Linked DNA regions of Homo sapiens: region 1 is linked to region 2. Evidence: promoter capture Hi-C in human tissues and cell types (Jung and others, 2019). All regions are on one chromosome and are shown on one strand. The core of a region is centred on a gene start or on the middle of the fragment in contact, and the rest is flanking DNA. Distances in the headings are between cores, read along the strand shown.

Region 1 (4,632 bases), core at 1,632-4,131, 410 kb after region 2:
CATTAAGAAAAAGACAAGTAGTCCAACAGTTAAGTGGAGTAGGGGGAGATGTGAAAAGACCTTCTATAGTAAAGAGAATAAAGACTGACAAGGGGCCAAGAGCTGGGTAGAAACTGGGAAGGTTAAAGGGTCATAGAGTAAGGAAAGGGGCCAAGATGTAGACTTGTAGGCAGGAGAGTCACTATACTCTTAAAAGCAGGGGCAGGTACAGAAATTAGCAGCAACCTCCACCTTTTGAAACTCTCACCAATAGCCTTGCATTAAAAGCATGGGCTCAGTCGGCCACTGGCAGGTCACTGAGGAAGGTCAGAGCATGGAATGAATAGCTCATAGACAATACACAAAGTCGTATGTCAATAAGTCCCTACTCTGGAACCCTCATCTTGGGCACTTCTGCAATAGATCTGAAGCCTGTGAACTTCGTGGAGACCTGATCTGAAACCTGCAGCAGCAAGGGGCTGGATTTGGCTGGATCTGGCAGTTGTCTCCATTCCTCACCCTCATTGGACCTCATAACTCCTTCTGGGGCCCCTGCACCATGGGGTTGCCTGTTATTTTCCTGTGGTGGCACAGTGGCTGATGAAGTGCTGTTCCTCAGCTATGGCAGCCAACACTACTAGATAGAAGCTGCTTGTCAAGAAAATCCTTCAAAGGCCCTATTGCCTTGAAATGATATGCACTATTTCTATGGGCTCTTAAACAGAATAATTCATTAGTCAGTTAAGAACAATCAATATCTCACTCCGACAATTTACACACTGACTCTGTTTACCCAGTGGACCCTCTCTGATAATATTATTTATGATCCTAAATAACTCCATCGGTGTTCAATAGAGCTGGAGGTGCCTCTGGGACCAGGACACAATCAAATTATGAAGACATATGGTTTGCTCAGCTCTGGAAATGTTCAGACGCATTTCATTGATGTTAGTCTCACAGTGGTACCTCCCTGCTCAGTTCTACAATCTTCCTAATGGTGTCTGTAGGATGGCCCTCCTCTTTAGGAAGGGACTGCCAAGGGAATTTTATGGTGGCTATTTCAGGATTCTCCAAAGTGAAGGACACATAGAATAGTTCAGTGGATTCTAGACCAGGCTGGCAATTATGATGTACTAGGCTTTGCCTATAGAAGGGTATGGAACAAATTAGCCTGGGAGAGATTTGTGAGGCAGCAGAGAGACAAGGATGTGGGGTGTGTGTGTGTAGGAGAACACAGGAGGGGTGAGGTTAGGTGAGAAGCAGAGGATTTGTGGGGTCAAATAAGTACGTTGGAGTTCATAAGATTTCAGGGAGATCCCCAGACTTACTTCAAGATAGAAGGAGAGAGGTAAGGTGAGACCATTCACTTAAAAACACATCCCTTTATTATGGGACTTCTTACAATGAACATGTATTATTTATGTAATTAAAAATACAGAGAGATGGTAAGTCTCCCTCTTTTTCCTCTCCCTCCCTCTCTTTATTTTCCTCCCTCCCTGTTACCCCCTCGCTCCTCCTCCTCCTCCTCCTCCTCCTCCTCCCTTTTCTTTTTCTTTCTTTGTCTCTGTCTCATATGCACACCACAGTTTAGAGAAGCAGCATCAAGAGAGGCTCTGATGTGGCTTCATCACTAACTGCAGCAGGACAACATCAGTGCACATTCGGAGCCCGTTTTATAGAATGGACTGTGAAGGCAAAGTGTCAAAGAGGGAAAAGGCAGCATTGCAAAGACAGAGCAGGCACTAAAATCTCTCTTATTTTCCTACTCATTAACCCTTTAGTCCTCAGGAGAGCAGGCGAAATGGGGAGGGCTGCAGTCATGAAGAGAGGAAGGGCCCGGCCCAGGATCTCCTAAGCTGTCTACATTGTAGTGTTCTGATCCCAGCCTGAGAGGGAAGCCCCCAGGGCCCAGCCTATGTGGGTTATGACAGCCTCTCAAAGGGCAGCTGAAATCTGGGGCAGGTGCCAGCACCTGGCAATCACTTTTGAAACCTGCTCTTTCCAAATACTCTACATAATAACCCTGACCGCTTAGCAGAGGAGACATTGCCATCCCCACTTACTAGATGAGGCAATGAAGAGTTCCGGGCATGAATGCCCAGACCCAGTACCAGGAACTCTGGACTCCTAGCCAGCAATCTCTAGACTAGCCCAGCAGCATTTCTGCTCATCTGACCTGTGACTAATGGCCAGCAGTGAGTGGCTATGTGCAGTTCTGGACCAGAGGGTAATCTGTGGCAAAAGCTTCAAAGACAAAAAATACATGGCAGCATGTGGGGAAGATGCCCATCAATTTCTAGCCCCATAGTACTCTGGTTCTATTGATGAACTGATCTTTGCTGCACAAGAGTCTCACGGATGCTCTGACTCTCTCATTTCTCTCTCTCTCTCTCTCTCTCTCTCTCTGTCACTCTCTCTGTCTCTCCCATCCTCCCTTCCTTTCTGTTTTCGTTTTATCCTCAGATATTTACTGAATACATGCCATGTTCCAAACATTCAGAAAGGAGTTGTAATCGATAAAGAAGACACCTGTCTACAAGAAGCTTACAGTCTACTGGCCAGAGATGAGATGTGTCCACAGATAACCATGCTGCAAGTTAAGTAAAGAAGAATCTGTAAGAGTGCTATGCCACTGTGACCTGTTCTTTGAAAAAGCTTGAAATGAAATCACAAAGCAACTTTCTTGATTTCCCACTATTTACATTTACTTAAGGAGGAAAGTTCTACTAACCCCAAATATGTACATGGAAAGATCCATGACCTTTAGGAATATTTTGGGGGAAATAAAATGTTCAATGATACCTGAAATCATATCTAGATTGAACTCATATTTAGAATGCCTGATCCCATGTAATGGTCAAAGCTTCCAACTTCATACAAAGTTATAGCTGGTTTCTCTCTCCCCAGCCAGTGCCTGCAACAGGGCAGGGGTTGAATGGTCAGCTTGTATCGGCAGAGGTCCCATTGTTCCTGCATGCGGCCCAGTGGGCAGGGCCTAACTTTGTACCATCCCAGCTCTCTTGCTTGCAAAGCCCATATGAAAACCCTAGGAAACACTTAGGCATCTTTGCCTGAGCAGATACTGGGAGAGCAACTCACCCATGTGCCACCTCCTCTGCTTTCCTCCCTTCTGTCACCCAGATTTTACAGGTGAAGGTCACATGTCAGGCACTCATTCTCCCACACTACAGGGGACATACACTCTGCTGTCTGAGTGGTCCCATTGAAGACCCCCTAGCAGACTGGAGATAAGGTACAGTTACACCTGCCTCTCCCCTTAGGGAGGTGGAACTCACAGCTCACCTGTCTCTAAAGAAGCCCTCTTCACAAATACCTTCCTGTCAACCTCCCACACACTTATTTTTTTAATACCCTTGACAAGAGTGAGGGTTTTGAGCTGTGAAACCAGTTTCTGGATATTTCCTTTGAAATTTCCATCCCAGTCTGGCTCCTTGCTGGAGCAGCCAATATTCTGCCATTTCAGGTGCTGAGCCCTGGCCTGGGAGGTGCCAGCAGGGAGAGGCCAATTCCAGCAGAGGAGAGTCCAGGCATGTGGGGATATGGTGGTGTTCTCCATGGAGGGAGAAACAGGGCATTAATAAAACAGTGCCAGGAATAACCCTGTGATTGATGGGTAAAGGTCATGGACTCTGGGATACTGGCAGGCACTGATGGGAACCTGTTAGGGCTGGACCGGGACCATCTCTGGCTTCCTGCTTCCCTCAGGTACCAGGATGCTCTGCTATGGTCTCTGGCAAAACTGAGCACTGGGGCTGGGCACATAATTTTGCCTGGGACAACTGCTGTAGGGGCTTCAGAATGCCTGGTTTTCTAAATTTTATTGGTGTCAGGAGAGAGCTTTGATAAGCTTTAATGTGCTATTAATTATTTGGGCTGTTAAAAAAGGGAGTGCATGAGAGGCTTGGAGTTGAATGATCTCATTTCTGAGGTTCTGAGGAGGTACACACATACACCCCAGTGGAAGCCAACTCAGGATCCAGCTGCTCACGGAGTTCCTCCCTCTGCTCAGACACCAAGAGTGCTGCTGCCTGAGACTGAGCAGAGTAGGGAACTGGGGAGGATCTCCACTGCTTTAAACTTAAATGTAACTTGGGCAATTTGGACTTTCTTTGGGCTTTAATTCGCAAGGGCTAAATACTTTGATTTTGGACTTTAATCTCTTTGGGATTTTAATCTCTAAATTTTTCCCTAGGAATTTGATAATGGGAAGGGTTTATATCCAAATTTGGGACATCTTATTTTCCCATTTATTATTGAAGAAATCTTTATGCATTTTTTATTAGCTCTTTATGCATTTTATTATTGAAGTATCTTCACTCTGCTATTAAACCTCATTACAGAACCTCTGATGAGGTTAGTGGTCCATGTGGCTGGACATCAATTTGGATTGGAAATAGAACAGGCTCTGAACTTGCAGTCTTAGACACAACATAGCCTTGGACTGGATTTTATTAACACACTGTTCTGGCTCATCTCAGAGGCTTATGGAAGTGAAATCAACAGTGTCTTAGGATGGTCCCAGGAAGGCACAGGAAGGAACAGAAGTTGATGCTGGGGGAGCGACCTCCTGCTCAGATAGTTAGCTCATCCCCTCCTGGAGCCAGATGACCACATACCTGGTTGTCCAGGGGT
Region 2 (4,776 bases), core at 182-2,681:
GAGCTGCAAGGAGGGGCTTTGCAGGCTCAGAGCCCTGCTGCATCCCCTCCTGCATCGCCGCTCGCACCCCGCGGCCCCGTGCCACTCGGTCCCGGCGCCCGCCTGGAGCCTGCAGCAGGGGCCAGAGGACGCCGCGCGGCTGCCAAGCGCGGCGAGGTGGCGGGAAGGGAGGCTGGGTGCAGCACAGCCGGCCTCTCCGCTGAGGAAGAGCTCCGGCTCCCTTTTGTTAGCAAAAGCAAACACTGCCCTCTTCTTTCCCGACCGCGCCAACGCGCCCGGCACACGGGCAGCCACACATCGGGCTCCAGCCGAGTGCTCGGTGTCTTCAGGGAAGGCACCGGGCGTGCAGAGCCGCCCCTGGGCAAATTCCCAAGACTGCTCTTCACGCAGGGAGCGCGCGGAGGCCCGCAGGGTGCCCGCCTGGCCGCAGAGGCCGCGACGCCCCCTCCGCCACCCTCGGGCCGCCGAAAGAACGGGCAGCCGGGAAATCCCGTGTCCCCACTCGTGGCAGAGGACGCTGTGGGGCGGGCGGGCTGCGGGCTCCCGGCGCCTTCCCGCAGAGGCGGCGACAGCGGCCGCCCCCCCCGCGGGGCCGGGCCGGGGAACTTTCCCCGCCTGGAGCCGGGCCAAAAAGACCCGCAGCAGAGCCGAGGGGGCGGAGGGCTGCGAACGGCCGGAGGGAAACACGAGAGGCGTGCAGTTTGGGGACAGGGGAGAAAGGCAGAGCGCGTTGGGGGAAGGGGCAGGGGAGATCAGACAAGTCTGGGGATGTCCTGGGGACCGGGGAGAAATCACGCCGCGGGCGGCTGGGAGTCAGCCACCAGGAGGCTTCGGGGATGGAGAACTGGGGGGGCCCTCTGGAGAGGTGGGGGCGAATGGACAGCCCTGGGAGGTGGGAGGACCTGCAAGTTACGGGGAGAACGGCGAGTTTAGAAGGGTCCGGAAGGGTTGAGGTTGTCTTTGAACCATCCCCTTCCCCCATGCTTTACAGCCCCCGGGCCCCCCATTCTCACTCCACTCTGCACCCCGCGCCAAGCCGGGGAGAGAAGGTGTGGGTGCAGCCATCCCTGGGGACTCTCATTCACACTTAGCCGGGCAGGGGAGAAGGGGCTCACAGATGCCCTCAGCCCCTTCCCTCTCAGCCCTGAGTTTCCTCTCCACACTCCCTCCGCTTCGGATGTAGGAAGTGGGGGGAGGTTGTCATGGAAACGTTTCCCCCCTCTGTGGCCAAGGCTACTGGGGTGCCTTCGGAGATTTAGGGGCCAACCGGTCGGTGCCCACACCTACCTGTGGGGATCAGTGCCGCGGCGGAGAAGAGCAACAGCAGAAGCCGGAGCCGGAGCCCGGGAGGCGCCGCCGCCGCCGCTGCCGCCGCACACTGGGATCCGCTCGGCAGCACTACACTCGCCATGTCGGGCACCTGCCTCAGACTGGCGGCGTTGGCTGCCTCCGGAGCCCGAGCGGACAGCTAATGAGATGCTAATGACATGCGCTGGAGGCGGAGTCCGGGCAGACCAATCACAGCGCCGCGAGCCCAACCCGGCTCTCGGAGGGCCTCGCTCCCTCCCCCACCCCGCCCCCTGGCGCTGGCGTTCGGCGGCGCGCCCGCGCCACCTAGGGGCGGGGCCAAGGGGAGGGGCGTATGCAAATATGTTTATGTTAAAATTCGGGTTTTGCTTTCCCCGGATCAAGGAAAAAGTGTTCTCCCGGGCGCCTGGCGTGCAAGGACTCGGGCTCCAGGGGGCGGGTCTAGCTTCTTGTACACCTTTATTAGGAATGTTTATAGCAATCGCTGTATCAGACCGACGACTGGAGAATCTCCCTTAAGAGGGTCCTCTGTCCCGCACACCGAGTGCATCTGGCCTAGCGAACCAGACGTTGCAAATTTCCGTCACTCACCTTGCACCGAAGGAATAGATCTTTGGGAACGGGGGCTGTGCGGGAGTGGAGAGTAAGAAGGCAGGTCCCCGGATTGACAAAACAATCTGGGAGAAGTGCATGCGTGCTTTGCACGTCCGGCGGAGCGGGAGAGCCCGCTCAACAGCCTAGCGGTAGACTCGGGGATAGTTGGAGAAGGCAGCCGTAGAGTCGGGTTCTGAGATTTTCCAGTCGGTCTTTTTGCGGCAGAATCTCGGGAAAGGTAGATCGAGGAGGGTATGCTCAGGCTCCTCCGCTTGTCGAGGGTCTCCTCCCTGGTTTTAATATATAGGTGTGTGTTGAATATATGTGTGAAATATTTGTAATATTAGATATTTAAGATTACACAACAACGGAAAAAATTAGTCAAGGCTTCAGGTGAAGAGCGGGGGTGGTGGGAGTTGGGGAGAGGGAGTGTGGTGAAGGCAGGGTCTGCCGTGTTCCTCCTTCGGGGCTCAAACCCTCTCACTCCTCCTCTGCGCCCCCAGCCCTTCCTAAGGAAGCTGGGGACCAACAGGTGCTCCGAGCTTCCCCTGTCTCTGGGAGAGCCTCTCCTGCTAAAGCGACTTGCATCTCCGGACTCACTCTCCCTCCCCGAAATTCTCTTTGCTTTCTTTTCAGCCAGGCAGCCGGCTCTCTTGTTTGTCTGCTTTTTAATTACTTATTTTCTTCCCCTCTAGAAGATCGTGTGCGCTCTGACCCTCTGTTGCTCAAGCATCAAATTGAAGGACGAGCCATATTAAGTGTAAAGGTTTATAATAATTTAAGTATTCATAGAATGCAGAACAATAAGATGTAGGAAATACAATTTGCATAATAAATATCAATATCACAACAGCTAAAACAAACCATGACAAATTATCTGTGGCTAAATGACCAAGAGATTACTGAATGTAAATTGCTAAGTCTGAGCTATAGTCTAGAAGAGCTGCGCCAAATGACTTCCCCAGCCTTCTGTCCTCATCTTGCTATAAAATAAATAAATAATACATATCAAAAAGGAAGTCATGATCTGCCAACCCACCAAATGAGTTACACTTAAAAACAGCCTCCTATTATCCATTATGCATAAACTAATTTCGAGACTGCCCGGTCTTCACAGCCCTGGATATTCTGCTCTGTAATTACAGGCCCCGATGCATGAACTGCAGGCAGTCCTTCAGAAGTGGGGAAAGCTCCAACAGGAGAACAGCACTACAGGAGACAGGAAACCATTGCCACGTGGGTGCCAGGATAATGCCCAGTCTGCAAAGTCCTACCCGTTCTTACTACCTCTGGCAGTGAGGTACCTGGGTCGGACCAAATAGAGAGCAAAGTTCCACCAAAATTGGAATAAAAAAGTTAAGGCCAGCCGGGCACGCTGACTGATGCCTGTAATCCCAGCACTTTGGGAGGTTGAGGCAGATGGATCACCTGAGGTCAGGAGTTCGAGATCAACCTGGCCAACACGGCGAAACTCCGTCTCTAATAAAAATACAAAAATTAGCCAGGCGTGATGACACACACCTGTAATCCCAGCTACTCAGGAGGCTCAGGCAGGAGGATCACTTGAACCCAGGAGGCGGAGGTTGCAGTGAGCTGAGATCGCATCATTGCACTCCAGCCTGGGCGACAAGAGTGAAACTCCGTCTCAAAAAAAAAAAAGTAAGGCCATATGTATGCTGAAAGTGATATGTAAACTATAAAGGCAGGTCCTATATGGCAAGAATCCTGACACAGAGCCTGGCACATAGTAACATTATTATCTGCCGTTACTATTATTACTACTCTTGCATTCACTGAATTCTTAAGTATTCTACATGCAAAATCTCATTTAATACTTGAAACAATCCCCAAGGTACATACTATTATCTTTCATTTTATATTTTTTAAACATGATTAGAAAGATTAAGTAACTGCCCTAAGATTACAGTCTCTAACTTGCAGAAAGAGCCTATGCAATTAACCACTGTGCCTTTCTAAATATCCGTAAAGTGAATGAATAAATTTCACATTACAATGCATGAATAATAAGCAAAGGATAGCTACATTTTTAACATAAGATGAAAATATGCCAGCAACCCAGAAACATTTTTTTTTTTAACTAACAGAATTGCAGTATACTCCTAAGGAAAAACATTCCTCATGAAGCTGAATCTCCAGGAGAATCTAGCCAGGCCCCAGTCCTCCCACACTCGGAACACAGTATGGGGACATTGGAAGATGTAGGGTGTTTTCATCTCCCTTCATTCTCTTGGCACATCAAATGAACACCTACTCAAATTTCCAGTTGGCAAAGAACAACATGGGACATTTCTGTAGGAAATGCTAATGTCGTATGATTTACCTCACTAGAGGAATGCAAATAGCTTTAGAAATTTCCACCAAAATGTCCCCTGTGCCATAAGGTTAAGGAACTTGCACGTACAATTCCCCAGGTAAAGAAACTGAGTCCTGGGGCACATTTAGACTGGGTCTACATGCAAGAAGCAGAGCAGAGAATTTAGGATTAAGCTGTTTCTAGTCTATCCACTAGCCACACGCCTTTCCTACCCCCAGCTCCTTCACACTGAAGATCTCGCCAAGCAATTTAACATATGGAACATGTGAAGAACGCATCAAATTCCCGCAGCCGCTAAGTACAAGTTATGACTACTCTGGCTTTCTCATAGTAAAGCTCGTCATTTTCTGCTTCATGGACTAGAACTCCTCGCCAACTACAAGTTCCAAAATTTTCCCCTTTGCTACATGGATTTAACCAATTTTGAAAACCAGATGGTGTTTTTGCCATTTATAACTGATAATCAATTGTTTTGTGAATTTAATTTTTCAAGAAAGAACTGAAATACTTATCAGAATTACAATCTGGGTGCTTCTTGT

What was found. The method cuts DNA at HindIII sites, captures the fragments that hold promoters and counts their contacts. A contact is called where the count stands out against the background at its distance.
Region 1: a contact is called between a fragment that was not itself captured here and the fragment with the promoter of CADM1 in region 2, in 1 of the 25 tissues and cell types used here (thymus).

Annotation. Positions count from the first base shown.
Region 1 is chr11:115,914,780-115,919,411 of GRCh38, forward strand. No RefSeq gene overlaps it. Among named protein-coding and RNA genes, the nearest start is that of LINC02703, 2.5 kb to the right of the region's middle. RefSeq lists an enhancer at 4,553-4,632. The HindIII fragment of the contact is 4,128 bases long and covers 818-4,632 here.
Region 2 is chr11:115,502,984-115,507,759 of GRCh38, forward strand. CADM1 (cell adhesion molecule 1) reads right to left here and starts at 1,432. Exons shown (of 12, transcript NM_001301043.2): 1 at 1,288-1,432. The coding sequence starts at 1,411. RefSeq lists a silencer at 1,458-1,617. The HindIII fragment of the contact is 7,329 bases long and covers 1-4,776 here.